4 separate regions of the Homo sapiens genome follow, and all the other regions are linked to region 1. The links are contacts of gene promoters, found by promoter capture Hi-C in blood cells and fetal thymus (Javierre and others, 2016). All regions are on one chromosome and are shown on one strand. The core of a region is centred on a gene start or on the middle of the fragment in contact, and the rest is flanking DNA. Distances in the headings are between cores, read along the strand shown.

The links. Contacts are between HindIII fragments. The CHiCAGO score rates a contact against its expected background, and 5 or more counts as called.
Region 2: a contact is called between a fragment that was not itself captured here and the fragment with the promoter of PLAC8L1 in region 1, in 1 of 17 cell types (activated CD4 T cells). The highest score is 7.7, in activated CD4 T cells.
Region 3: a contact is called between a fragment that was not itself captured here and the fragment with the promoter of PLAC8L1 in region 1, in 2 of 17 cell types (activated CD4 T cells and naive CD8 T cells). The highest score is 8.5, in activated CD4 T cells.
Region 4: a fragment that was not itself captured here is called in contact with the fragment with the promoter of PLAC8L1 in region 1 in 1 of 17 cell types (non-activated CD4 T cells); the score reaches 5.1 in non-activated CD4 T cells.

The regions. Positions count from the first base shown.
Region 1 is chr5:146,103,911-146,106,903 of GRCh38, forward strand. PLAC8L1 (PLAC8 like 1) reads right to left here and starts at 1,667. Exons shown (of 4, transcript NM_001029869.3): 1 at 283-1,667. The coding sequence starts at 401. The HindIII fragment of the contact is 7,482 bases long and covers 1-2,993 here.
Region 2 is chr5:146,247,412-146,250,570 of GRCh38, forward strand. All of the region lies in intron 8 of RBM27-POU4F3 (RBM27-POU4F3 readthrough), which reads left to right. All of the region lies in intron 8 of RBM27 (RNA binding motif protein 27), which reads left to right. Among named protein-coding and RNA genes, the nearest start is that of RBM27-POU4F3, 45 kb to the left of the region's middle. The HindIII fragment of the contact is 5,614 bases long and covers 1-3,159 here.
Region 3 is chr5:146,285,792-146,289,260 of GRCh38, forward strand. All of the region lies in intron 18 of RBM27-POU4F3 (RBM27-POU4F3 readthrough), which reads left to right. RBM27 (RNA binding motif protein 27) reads left to right here. Exons shown (of 21, transcript NM_018989.2): 21 at 156-3,432. The coding sequence ends at 239. Among named protein-coding and RNA genes, the nearest start is that of POU4F3, 51 kb to the right of the region's middle. The HindIII fragment of the contact is 776 bases long and covers 1,245-2,020 here.
Region 4 is chr5:146,306,820-146,309,819 of GRCh38, forward strand. All of the region lies in intron 18 of RBM27-POU4F3 (RBM27-POU4F3 readthrough), which reads left to right. Among named protein-coding and RNA genes, the nearest start is that of POU4F3, 31 kb to the right of the region's middle. The HindIII fragment of the contact is 461 bases long and covers 1,244-1,704 here.

The DNA of each region.
Region 1 (2,993 bases), core at 417-2,916:
GATTGGCAGTCTCTAAAAATAAAGTTCCACTTGGTCAGGGTTCAACATTTTAAGAATAAAGAGATACCATTTCACCCAAGCCAGCCCTTTTCTTGTCACCAGCCAAGAAAGGCCAGAAGGAACAAATCAGTTGCCCTCTTTTCAAGTTTGCATGGAGAAAAGATAGCAACCACTTTCTTCCCAAGCCCAGTTTTCTTTTCCCTGGTTCCTTATAAGTAGAGGTTGATTCGATAGTCCAACTAAAGAGCAAAAGCTAGGGGAAAAACTCACCCTATTCCCTACCTCAAGTTGGAAATAAAATGTTCATCTTCAGATGACATGTGTGACAACAGAGGTGAGTATATGTTGAGTAAGGAAAGATCCTCAGGACACCTGAAGAAGTTACTTCCAAACCAATTCATAGTGAGAAGTGTTTTCTTGTCCTTTGGGCTATCCTTTTTCCCTTTGGCAATAAGCTGGTTTCTAAACTTCGGATTAGTCCAAAGTGAAACATCTCTTGAAAGAATGTTCCCTTAATATTCTGGAACCTGAGGTCATAGCAGTGTAACTAACAGACATCTTTTTTCTTTAAAAACAGGTATACACCTAACTGTGGACACATTCATCTTACTAATCTGTAGGGAGATATTGCTGGAGTATAGAGTAAATAGAAGAAAAAGACTTATCTTTGGTGGAAAACTCTTTAAGAGATGCCTCTAGTAAACATTTATCTAGCTAAGTGCCACTTGACCGTTCCTTGGAAGATTCAGAAGGCTGAAAATTTCTGCCATGCCATGTGACTGAGAAGCAGCAGAGACCTCTCTTCATCCCCTGAACTGCTGGTCCAATTCAGCCAGATGATGCAAGTCCCATAGCCAACCCAAAAGCAGGAGCAAAAAAAAGTCTTTCAGCGCAGGTATTGTATTTGAATCCATCTTATGAAAGGTGGTCTCCTCAAGTTTGAGCTATGGTAGATTGTCACAAGCCTCAAAGCCTTTTCAGAACTTCTAGAAATTCTCTGCTCTTCCATTAACTTCATTGATAATGCCAGGAAAGTGGCATTTCTTTCCTACCCAGTCCAGACGGAATCTAGTAACTGAAGCAAGGCTTGCCTGGTGATGTCCTCACAACAGCTCTGAATCCTCAAGGTCTCAGGAGCCTCTGAATCATGCCTCTGGCACATGTCTTATGGAGGTGTGGACCCTAGAAATATTAGGAAATATCCTAAGACAAAAAATTAGGCAAAATTTCACGTTGAGGAAAGGGCTCTGCAATCATAATTTGACATTACATTAGAAAGACATCAGGAGGATACTGCCAATTATATCATATATTCTTTTCATCAGACCCATAGAGAATGGTTGCTTAGGGTTCTGAACTTCAAAGCATTTATTGAACCAGGTTGTTAGGAAAAGCCTATAATACCTTCCAAATCAAGATTCCTCAGACATAGCTTCATAACTGCCTTCAATCATGGGGTTCTGGGCAACTGTCATTGTCTTCTTAACAGTAAGGATGTACCCTACATTAAGGACAGGTATGTTTTTTCTGCTTACTACTCTATTCCAAGTGCTGACCACAGTGTCTGGCACATAAAAAGCACTCAATAATTTGTTGAATAAATGTGCCCTACATGAAAATTCAGGTTTATAAGAATAACAGAAATTAAGAGGTGATTACTAGCTTTGCAAAAAAAAAAAAAAAAAAAAAAAAAGATTTACAGTAAGATTCCTTTGAAGAGTAAACCACCATGGTACATATAAGCTATGACTCCATATTTTTACATTTCATTTGCGCCCAACTTTTCTAATCAAACGTCTATTGTATGAAGTGACTAATCCACATGCTACACAGCTTTTTCATTTAAAAATAAAATGAAAAGAATAGAAAAGGCATGTGCTTTATAAAAGAATGCCAAATATTTATGAAAAAGAAATAATAGCATTAGAATATCACCATTTTGCATAGCCCCAGCATAACAACATATCAGGAAGGAAATTCAGAAGCATTAAAACCATTAGATAAAAAAGATTAGGAACCAAATATTCTCAAGGTGCAAAAATATAACTATTCCACATATTTCTAATTGCAAAAGAGAAAATGTACCTTAACTATGAAAAATTCCAGAAGTACTCAAAATGCATATTTACATTGGAAAGTTCTGAAAGTGTAAGAAAAAAAAAGTACCCTTACAATAAAAGCTCTGGGTGTGATTTTAACAAATATGCCTTTACATCAGAAGGTCCTAGAAGTGATCAAAATGTATCTTTAACATTACCCTTCACCCTTCCTCCATGATTGTAGGTTCCTGAGGCCTCCCCAGCCATGCCTCCTGTATAGCCTGTGGAACTGAGTCAATTAAAACTCTTTTTTAAATAAATTACCCAGTCTCAGGTAGTTTTTTATAGCAGTATAAAAACACACTAGGCCAGATGCAGTGGCTCACACCTGTAATCCCAGCACTTTGGGAGGCTGAGACGGGCAGATCATCTGAGGTCAGGAGTTTCAGACCAGCCTGGCCAACGTGGTGAAACCCCATCTCTACTTAAAAATACAAAAATTAGCCAGGCGTGGTGGCAGGCACTGTAATCCCAGCTACTCAGGAGGCTGAGGCAAGAGGATCGCTTGAACCTGGAAGGCAGAGGTTGCAGTGAGCCAAGATCATTCGACTGCACTCCAGTCTAGATGACAGAGCAAGATTCTGTCTCAAAAAAAAAAAAAAGAAAAAGAAAAGAAAACACACTAATACAAGCTCTATGCACAGCAGAGGGCCATTACAAATCTTATTGATGCTGTAAATTTTGGGGTGAAGTATTTTCTACCTGACTGGGGTCCATATAAACTTCTCCTTTCTCTGACCTCCTAATGGCCCTGGTAACACTGGCCTTGGTCAAATACATTCCTGTTTTCCATGCACGAATTCTTTGTTGTCTAAGTGCAATGAAGATGGAGGCCAGGGCTCTAATTCAACTCTGCTGCTAATACATAGGATCTTGAGCCAGTGACTTTGACCT
Region 2 (3,159 bases), core at 195-2,694, 140 kb after region 1:
AATTGTATCATAAATGCCCTTTTGTACCTGGTTTATTTGACGCTATATCCAAACAGGGTTATACATTACGTTTAGTTGATATCTTTCTTAAGTCTTTATAGAAATATCCTTTACTTCTTTTTTTTTCTCCCTTGGCGTTTATTTGTTGAAGAAATAGATCATTTGTCCTAAAGAATTTTCTCACATTCTAGACTTGGCAGATTGATCTTCTGGTGTCATCTAACACATTCCTCTATCCCCTGTATTACCTGTAAATTTGAAGTTAGAGCTAGGTATTTGATAAAATTCAATTTTTTTCTTTTTTTGGCAAGAACATTTTATAGATGGCGTTATGTACTTCCTACACAGTACATTATAATGCTCATGATGTCTGGTTGTCTCCTTTCTGTGTTATAAATATTGATTAGTGTGTAAAGGTGTTTTCATCCTGATCCATTCATTTTAAAACTTGCTTGATGGTTTCAACAGCCATTTTTGATCATTGCCTGGATTTGCTGTTGTATGTGAAACTCTAAATCTATAGTTTCTTCTACATTTATTGCTAGCATTCCATATAGTTGACTATAACAACCATTTGGTTAACCTGAAATGCAGTTTTTACAGAAGAGACATGATATATGTGTATTTTCTTTCATTTATCAATTTTAAGAATGAGTTGATTCCCTAGTTTTTTCCAAAGGGAACTCCTGTTTTTTTTTTAAGTATCATTATGAACTCATGAATTTTTAACATTTGATATGTTTCACTCCATTATAGTCTTTTTTGATGTTCAGATTGTCTCATCTTTAATCAATAGGAGCCTCTTCATGTTGGCTTCTGCTAGTTTTTTTTTTTTTTTTTAATTTTTGACATGCCAGTTTTTGATAACTCTCTTGCTTCTGGAAGGACAAGGTATACTAAGGTGTACCAGGCTCATCTTATAAATTTTCTGCCCTGACCTAGAATTAGCCCTTTGTCTAAAGAACTCTGTTGCTTTAGAAGTAGTATTTAGAGACTCAGTAGGAATTGTTTAAGAAAGTCAGGCTACATTTGGATTAATTGCCATCTTTTTGAGGTATTTGTTTTTTATTTTGAGGCAGAGGCTTTCTCTGTTACCCAGGCTGGAGTGCAGTGGTGCAGTCTCGGCTCATTGCAACCTCTGCCTCCTGGGTTCAAGTGATTCTTGTGCCTCAGCCTCCAGAGTAGCTGAGATTACAGACATGCACCACTACGCCTGGCTAATTTTTGTAATTTTAGTAGAGACGGGGTTTCACCCTATTGCCCAGCCTGGTCTCAAATTCCTGAGCTCAAGGGATCCACCCGCCTTGGCCTCCCAAAGTGCTGTAATCACAGGTGTGAGCCATCGTGCTCGGCCTTTCTGTATGTTCTTTGTCAGTAGTTTTAAAAACAGACATTGGGCAAAGTAGCCTTTTGGTTTCCAGTTTACTTTGAGACAGCTATTATTAATTAGACATACTTAATTAGATAGTATACTTAGTACATCAAGTGATGTATCATACATTTAAAGTAGTCATATGGACTAAGATTGTACTTCCCATTTTTCTATATATGTATGTATTTCTATTTTTTAATTAATTTTTTTTCTTTTAAAGACAGCATCTCACCCTGTCACCTAAGCTGGAGTACAGTGGCACAATCGTGGCTCACTGCAGCTTTGACCTTCTGGCTCAAGTGATCCTCCTGCCCTAGCCTTCCAAATAGCTAGGACTACAGCTGTGCGCCACCATGCATGGCTAATTTTTAAAATATTTAGTAGAGACAGAGTCTCGGTATGTTACTCAGGCTGGTCTCAAACTCCTGAGCTCAAGTAATCCTCACACCTTGGCCTCCCAAATTGTTGGGTTTATGGATGTGAGCTACTGCACCTGGCCCCATTTTTCTCTTTAACATACTACTACATTCTGCTGATAGGTCACTCTTCACAAGTAATTCCCTGCCATTGATTGTGTGCTTACAACTATTTGTTCCCCTCATTGAGACTATGTTAAATTGGGCTGGGCACGGTGGCTCACGCCTGTAATTCCAGAAGTTTGGGAGGCCGAGGTGGGTGGATCACCTGAGGTCAGGAGTTTGAGACCAGCCTGGGCAACATGGTGAAACCCCGTCCCTACTAAAAATGCAAAAAATTAGCTGGGCGTGGTGGTGGGCACCAGAAATCCCAGCTACTAGGGAGGCTGAGGCAGGAGAATTGCTTGAACCTGGGAGGCAGAGGTCGCCGTGAGCCCAGATCATGCTACTGCAGCTCCAGCCTGGGCGACAGAGTGAGACTCTCAAAAAAAAAAAAAAAAAAGAAAAAGTAAAAAAAAAAGAAAAAAAGAAAATATGTTATATTGTTTTTGCAGTGTAATAATTAGCTGATTCTTTTTAAATGTACTTTTTTTTCCCCATCAACTTTTATTTTAAGTTCCAGGGTACATATGTAGGATGTACAGGTTTTTTACGTAGGTAAATGTGTGCCATGGTGGTTTGCTGCACAGATCAACCTACCACCTAGGTATTAAGCCCAACATCCATTAGAAATGTAAATTTTAAAAGGGTTAATGCTAAGTGCACAGTTATACAGTATGATTTGTTACTTCCTCTTTTGCTTCTTATATACGAAGAAAAGGGTAGTGAAGTTTAGCATCTCCATATTCCCTTTAGGGACTTACTGTGAAACCAAGTGGTTGCTTTGTAGCCTGTCCTATTAAGGTGCATTTAAAATCTTTAGGAATTTTACAGCTTTTAAGGACATTTCACCAGGTATAAAAAAAATTCAAGGCTGGGCGCTGGGTCCGGTGGCACTTTGGGAGGCCGAGACGGGCAGATCACGAGGTCAGGGGATTGAGACCATCCTGGCTAACACGGTGAAACCCCGTCTCTACTAAAAATACAAAAAAATTAGCCAGGCATGGTGGTGGGCGCCTGTAGTCCCAGCTACTCGGGAGGCTGAGGCAGGAGAATGGCGTGAACCCGGGAGACGGAGCTTGCAGTGAGCACCACTGCACTCCAGCCTGGGTGACAGAGCAAGACTCCGTCTCAAAAAAAAAAAAAAAAAATCCACTTTATTTTGTCTTGTGTCACATAGTAAATGTCTGATGTTGGACATATATAATAACTAAATCATATAAATATGTCTCAAATGGGGTTGTCGGTGAAAAAGATACTGTTAAATGGACA
Region 3 (3,469 bases), core at 383-2,882, 180 kb after region 1:
TTTTTTTTTTTTTTGCCCTGAAAGATACTCTTGCATGCATCCCTTATGAAATCTAGCCTGGGCTTTGTATACTAGCCTGTTTGTCCTTTGGCCTAAAAAGTATTTTACTTACCATTCTTGTGCCACTAAGCAGATTTTAACCTCTCTTTCTTCAGGAAACAGAAACCTCAGATTTGTTTTTGCCTGATGATGACGATGAAGATGAAGATGAATATGAGTCTCGCTCATGGCGAAGATGAAATCTGATGCTAGCTGTATAATTTTTAGGAATATTGTTTAGAAGAACAACTTTTAAAAATTATTTAAAAGAAGTCAATGAGCCAAAAAAAATTTTTTTATTTTTCTTTTCAACACAGTAGGTTCAAGAACAGCAAGTTTGCTATTTAAACACATCTCATAACTGTACATGATATTAAAGCACCAAAGGCCTAGTGACTTTTACACAGTTGTGAAGATCCACAGCAATGACATGGATAATCTCTAGAGCCTTATTTTCCACACCACCTTTTTTTTGTTGCTGTTGGTGTTGGATTATGATGTAAATGACAGGGTGTTCAGAAATTTTATTTTGGATTATAATCTACTGATAAAATTTAATTAAATGTCAAAATCACCTGTAATCTTTTAACTCTCAGTTGTTATGGATGGGTCATCAGACAGTAGGAAATATTTGTAATTAAAATACCCTTTTGCTTTCAAGAGTGGTCTTGGAAGAAAAATATGTTTATTTTAATTTTAATTTTTTTTTTTTTTTACTTTGGAGGAGCCCAATTTGTATTCAGTCTAAATTTGTTTTTCATGGTTTTTATGTGTGGTAGTACTAGTTCAGTGAAAATCACAACAAACTGTGTGTTCTTAAATGCTACAGCAATGGTAGCTAGCTCTATAGTATTTCCATTCTCTTGTCATATGAACTCCTGGACTTTTCCTGCTACTGATTCTTAGTTTGCTTTGATATTTAGTGAGCGCTGGTTCGGCTGGTCTTTTTAAAAATTTTTATAACTCAGAATGTAAAAGGCTTTCACCTATTGCCCCTTTCTCGTCCCCCTTTTCTTCCTCTTGCCTTTCTATTAATAGGCCTGACTTAGTCATCATTGATATAAGTGGTTCATTTGGGCAACCGCAGGCAGTCTCCAATAAAAGGTTCAAACCAGCACCTGGATAAATAAGTGATGTTTTGATGAGAATGATGGAAGGATTTTGGGGAGAAGAGAATCACCAGCTTTATTTTTTCCCTCTTTTGAAGCTTCAGTTCAGTATAGTTACACAGAAGGGTTTAAAAATGTCTGAAATTCTTTTCCTAAATTTAAACCATGATGGTGAGGTGACTGGGGGGTGGGGGGTGGAGGTGGGAGGGGGTTGAGGGCTGAGTATGCTAGTAATAAATGGGAGTCATATATGACTTTGTTCAGATGACCTTATTTTTTCATAATTTTGTAGCTTGTTGCTATCCATGAACATACGCATCCCTCAGTAGACAGTTTCCTTTACTGTGTGCATTTTTACTGTACACTGTATAGAGTAGAGTATCTGTTAAGTAAAATATATATGTAAATTTATGTCTTCGTGTTCTGAATGTTAGATGGAAAAGCAGAGGAGCAACACTACACTGTACTGACCCCTGGGAAAATAAAATGATTAATGTACCTAGGCTGTCACTTTTTCAAGGATATACACATCTGTGTTTTTATATATGTGTGGTATGAAAATTTGAAACCTCCTGTTGTCTCCAAAAGGGTCTTGGTGACCACTATATCAAGGATTTTGTTTGCTGAGGTAAAGACAATTTCTCAATATAGAAACTATTCACTAAGAACTTAAAACCATCAGGATTCTAGATTTACTTAGCTATAAGAAGTTAAATCCCACGTTCTGATAATCTTTATTCTTCTACATGTTTTCCTGGAATGATGTGTCAAACCAGGGTCATTTTTAAGTTCATATAATTTTCTTTCATAATAATGAGGACTTCCTTTTTCTAGGTTATTGTTATATTTCTAGTAACACTGAAGGTAAAATAAGCTTATAAAAGAAGGAAAACATCAGAATGGTGTATCTAGAATACACAATCTTGCTCCTTACTCCTCCATCATCTCTAATGAAATTTTTCTTGATGTCTGTGGCTCAGTCAGTATATATTTTGAAAGATTCATTGTGGTGAATATTTTGAGTCCTGACAGTTTAAACGTGATAGAGGGAACAAAGGATTTATATATTTTTTGTACAAAGTTTTTTCTTAAACTGTATAATTTTGTAAATAATTTGTTTGGGTTTTTTTTTTGTGTACTAAAACTACCAGCGTATAGATTTCAATAAGAATTGTTGTATTTTTGTATTTGGAAACTGAAAATTACAGTAAATAAATGGAACTCTAAGAAAAATTTCAGTAGACAGTTCAACAGAATGAGATTCCTTTTCATATGATTTTTTTGACCTCAAAATGGACATCTTATTTCACTCTCAGTAAAAAGTTGAAAATTTGACTTTTTAGTATTGGGGGCAGAAGATAGAAGTGTGTTAAAGTGAAAAACAGTTTTTTCAGTAAGGTTTGAGGCCCTTTCTATAAGTTTTCAGTACACCTTAAACAGGACTAAAAATACTTTAAAAGTGTGCTTTCAAAGAATTTTAAAACATGTTTGACTCAAAGATGAATTTGAAGTGAGTTAATTATAATACTGGAAAACTTCAGGTTAGCATAAAATAGTTTATATATATCCCCTGCCCCCTTTGGGATTTACTTCCACCATCAAATCTTCAACTGTTAGAATTTCACTTAAAAGTGAATAACTGCCATACATGTTTTCTTGGCATCTTCATTTACAGAAATAACATACAGCATCTAAAGCAAGTTCTGTCCCTCTTAATGTGTATGACATCTTTTTAAGTAGCTGATCAGCAATAATAGCCACCAGTTGACTAGGTCAGCCTGATATACTAGTGGATCACTGTCCAAGATAAAAAGGTAACCCCAAGTATTGCAAAATTTCCCTCAATTTCTTTATGTAACATTGAAGAAATGTTGTTACCAGCTAAGATGATAAATTGGAAAACAGTCTTGTTAAGGTGAAAGGGGTCCTTGGTGATGGATCATTATTTCAAAAAAGAAAAAAATCATGTGAAAAGGAATAGTGGTTCCTCTTGATGTATAGTATGCCTGTATTATAGTTTTTACAAAATTGTGAACTTGTGTAATAGTATAATAGGAGATATTGTTGAATTTCTAACTGTTTATACATTTAAATTCATATATGTAATGTTTGTTTTATCAATTACAATCTGAATTTCTAAGAAGCATGTTGACTTTTGCAATAAAGATGCAATATGGAATGGTTCACAATTGGAAAAAAAAAAGAAAAAAGATGAAAGTATTACAAATTTAAAAGAATTTGGAAAATTTATGAACCATTCCAAAAATTATAACAATCACCAAAAGAGCTGTAATTCTGGCTTGTTCTGGAAAGAAAGAAAA
Region 4 (3,000 bases), core at 224-2,723, 200 kb after region 1:
ATCAGATGATGATTTTTCAGAGGCATGAGGTTTAATTGTTTTTACACTGATTGGTTTGGATTTTGGTAGCACAGTTGCAGAATAGAATTAATAGTAGGTTTTGGAGGAAGGTTGCAGTTGAGAAGTGTCACCTGTCAGCTTGGCTGAGCAACAGCAATTTTCAGTGGTTACTCATCCACAGCCAGTGCTAATTTGGATTGGACATACAGTGAAACAAACAAACACAAGCACTGATATCCTTCATGTTACCCTTTAACAGGCCTTCTGCAGATAGTGAATTCAGAATCACTCAAGAGTCTTTATTTAGTCTGGCTGTTGCAAAGGCTTGAGGGTTATCCAGGGCATCAGATGGAATTCTCAGCACACAGTGGGACCTACGAGACTCTGGACCTTCCCTCTGCAGCAGAGTCAAAGCAAACCTTCTCAGTCGTCCAGGCCACGTCTGTTTTAAAGGCTCCTAAATATACATAAAATTTTTTCAGAAAAAATACTAAGATGGAACTATGAAACTGGCATATTTTAAATCCTCACCTTAAATAATGTAAATGCTATTTGAATTTAAAGAAAAGGAAGAAAAGAAGGAAGACAAGTGAAGAGGGAAAAGAATAAGAATGACAGTGACTTTAAGTATAACCTCATTTAGAGAAAAATCTCAAAGATCTAAAGGTCTGGCCCCAAAAAGCCTGTCAGCCAACCTTTGTGGTAGGTCCCAAGCCCTAGTGAGCTTTGTTTGGAAGGATGGAGGCTGGGCAAATGCCTACATTCAGTGGTGCATCTGAAAGGGTGGTTTCTTCATCAAAACTGTAATGAAGAAGGATTTGGATGAAGGTTACATTCTCAGTGCTCCTTTTACATTTCCATCCTACAATTGGTGTCTGGGTGAGAGTATCTTGTGGGAGGGAACAGGCAAACTGACAGCATCCAAACCAAGCCGAAGGCATCCCTCACTCTCCCAACTAGGAAGCAATGGTATGGTTGTGAGAACACAAATCCTAGAGGCCTGCTTTCAAATCCTGGCTCTGCACCTTCCTAGCTGTGAGAAGTTGGCCATGTTACCAAACTTCTGAGCCTCAGTTTTCTTAGCTGTAAACAGAGGATAATAATGACACCCTCCTCCCCGTAGGATTGTTATGAGGATTAAACAAGATCACCCTCTGAAAGCACTGGGCACAGTGCCTGGCATAGCATAAATGTTCAATAATACCACTAGGTATTATTACAAAACGATTACTGGCTGAGCTCAAGCTTACAGAGCCAGGAATGTGGATATGTGGGAAGCTGTGCTTTCTTGCCTACTAGGACAGCCATTAACAGCCAGAAGCATTATGTTATCCAGGAAAACCCAAAAGAGAGCACTCACTTTATTTTTTAAATCATGAAATATTTCAGACTGCTATAAAGTTTAGAAGAGGATATAACATACACCAAAGTTACCCATCACTCAAGAAATGAAATGTATCATGAGCAATAAAATGCTATGCAGTTATTAAAATGAATGAACTAGATCCATGTGGATAAATCTCAAAAACATAATGTTGATCAAAAAGAGCAAGTGGCAATAGAAGGCATATAATGTGATGCCATTTATATCAACTTTATAAACTTGCACAGTAATGCTATGTATAAATTGTTTAGTGATGCATGCATAGGTAGTAAAACAATCAAGACATGCAGGGGAATGATAAGCAATGCTTGTCTTAGGAAAGCTTTGAAGGATGGGAGCCCTTCAATTCTCAGGTGTCCTGGCTTTGTTCTCAGCAGGGCCTAGGTCAGGAGCTCCTCTCCCTGCTGTCTTTACACAGATGTTAGCCCCTGTGGAGGCAGAACTCCAGGCAAGCAGTGTTAAATACACTGAAAGCAAAATTCTCCCTTTGACTGTACTCGGCTCCCATTAAAGTCCAGGGGCGCTCTCTCTGCAGGCCTCAGTCTCTTTTTGACGCCGCGATGCCCCCTGCGCATCATGACGTGACATATCCAACCTGAATTCTGAAGGTTGGATGTAACATAAAAGCAGCCAACCAACAGCATAAATGTATATGAAATGAAATCAATAGAAAGTGTATTTTTTCCTTCTATTGAAGCTACTCCTGCGAGGGTACATCATAGGAGCTAGGACAGTGCTAGAGAGATACTAGCAGCAGGCAGGAGGCAGGAAGGGTGTGAGCAGGGGTGGGGGGAGCAGTGGAGGAGGGAGTCAGTGTTCACATTCACTGTGTGAACCAGGGCTTAGTGAGAAACCTCCTTGCTTTTCCCTCATCACTTAAAAAACAATCAATTATCCATGCTTCTGTGATAAAATAGAGATTTCTGCTTTGTTCACTTCATTTTAGCCTAAGAGGTCATGGCGAAAAAGAATGAGTTCTGAGATTGCATTTTCTGTCGCAAAAGGTTGATAGCAGATTATGAATTCATGATAAAATTAAAAACTGAAATCAGGCAAAGAGAGAAATGGTTTTGTTCATGCATTTTTTTCCCTGCTAGCTTCACAATGGAATTTTTATATCTCATAATAATAAAATTCTAGGCATTGCAATGAGTCCTTTGCATCGGTGATTTCATTTATCTCTCATGATAGACATACAAAGTGGTATTAGCATGCTTACATGAAACCAGAGGTACGCTGTAAGCCAGGATTGAACTCAGGGAGCCTGATTCCAAAGTCTGTGCTCTACTTGTCACCATACAATATGCCTGCCCCGACTGAAATTCGTGCTGTGAATAAATGTTCTTTGTGTACTAACGAAGTAATCTTCAAACTGCAGAAACTTTGCCACAATGCTCTATTGCTGGCAGGGCCTTGAGAATGATCTAACATGACCCTTTCTATCTTTTTTATTTTATTTATTTATTTATTTATTTATTTATTTATTTTCTGAGATGGAGTCTTGCCCTGTCACCCAGGCTTGAGTGCACTGTTGCAGTCTCGGCTCACTGCAACCTCCGCCTCCCGTGCTCATACGATTCTCCTGCCTGAACCTCCCGAGTAGCTGGGATTACAGA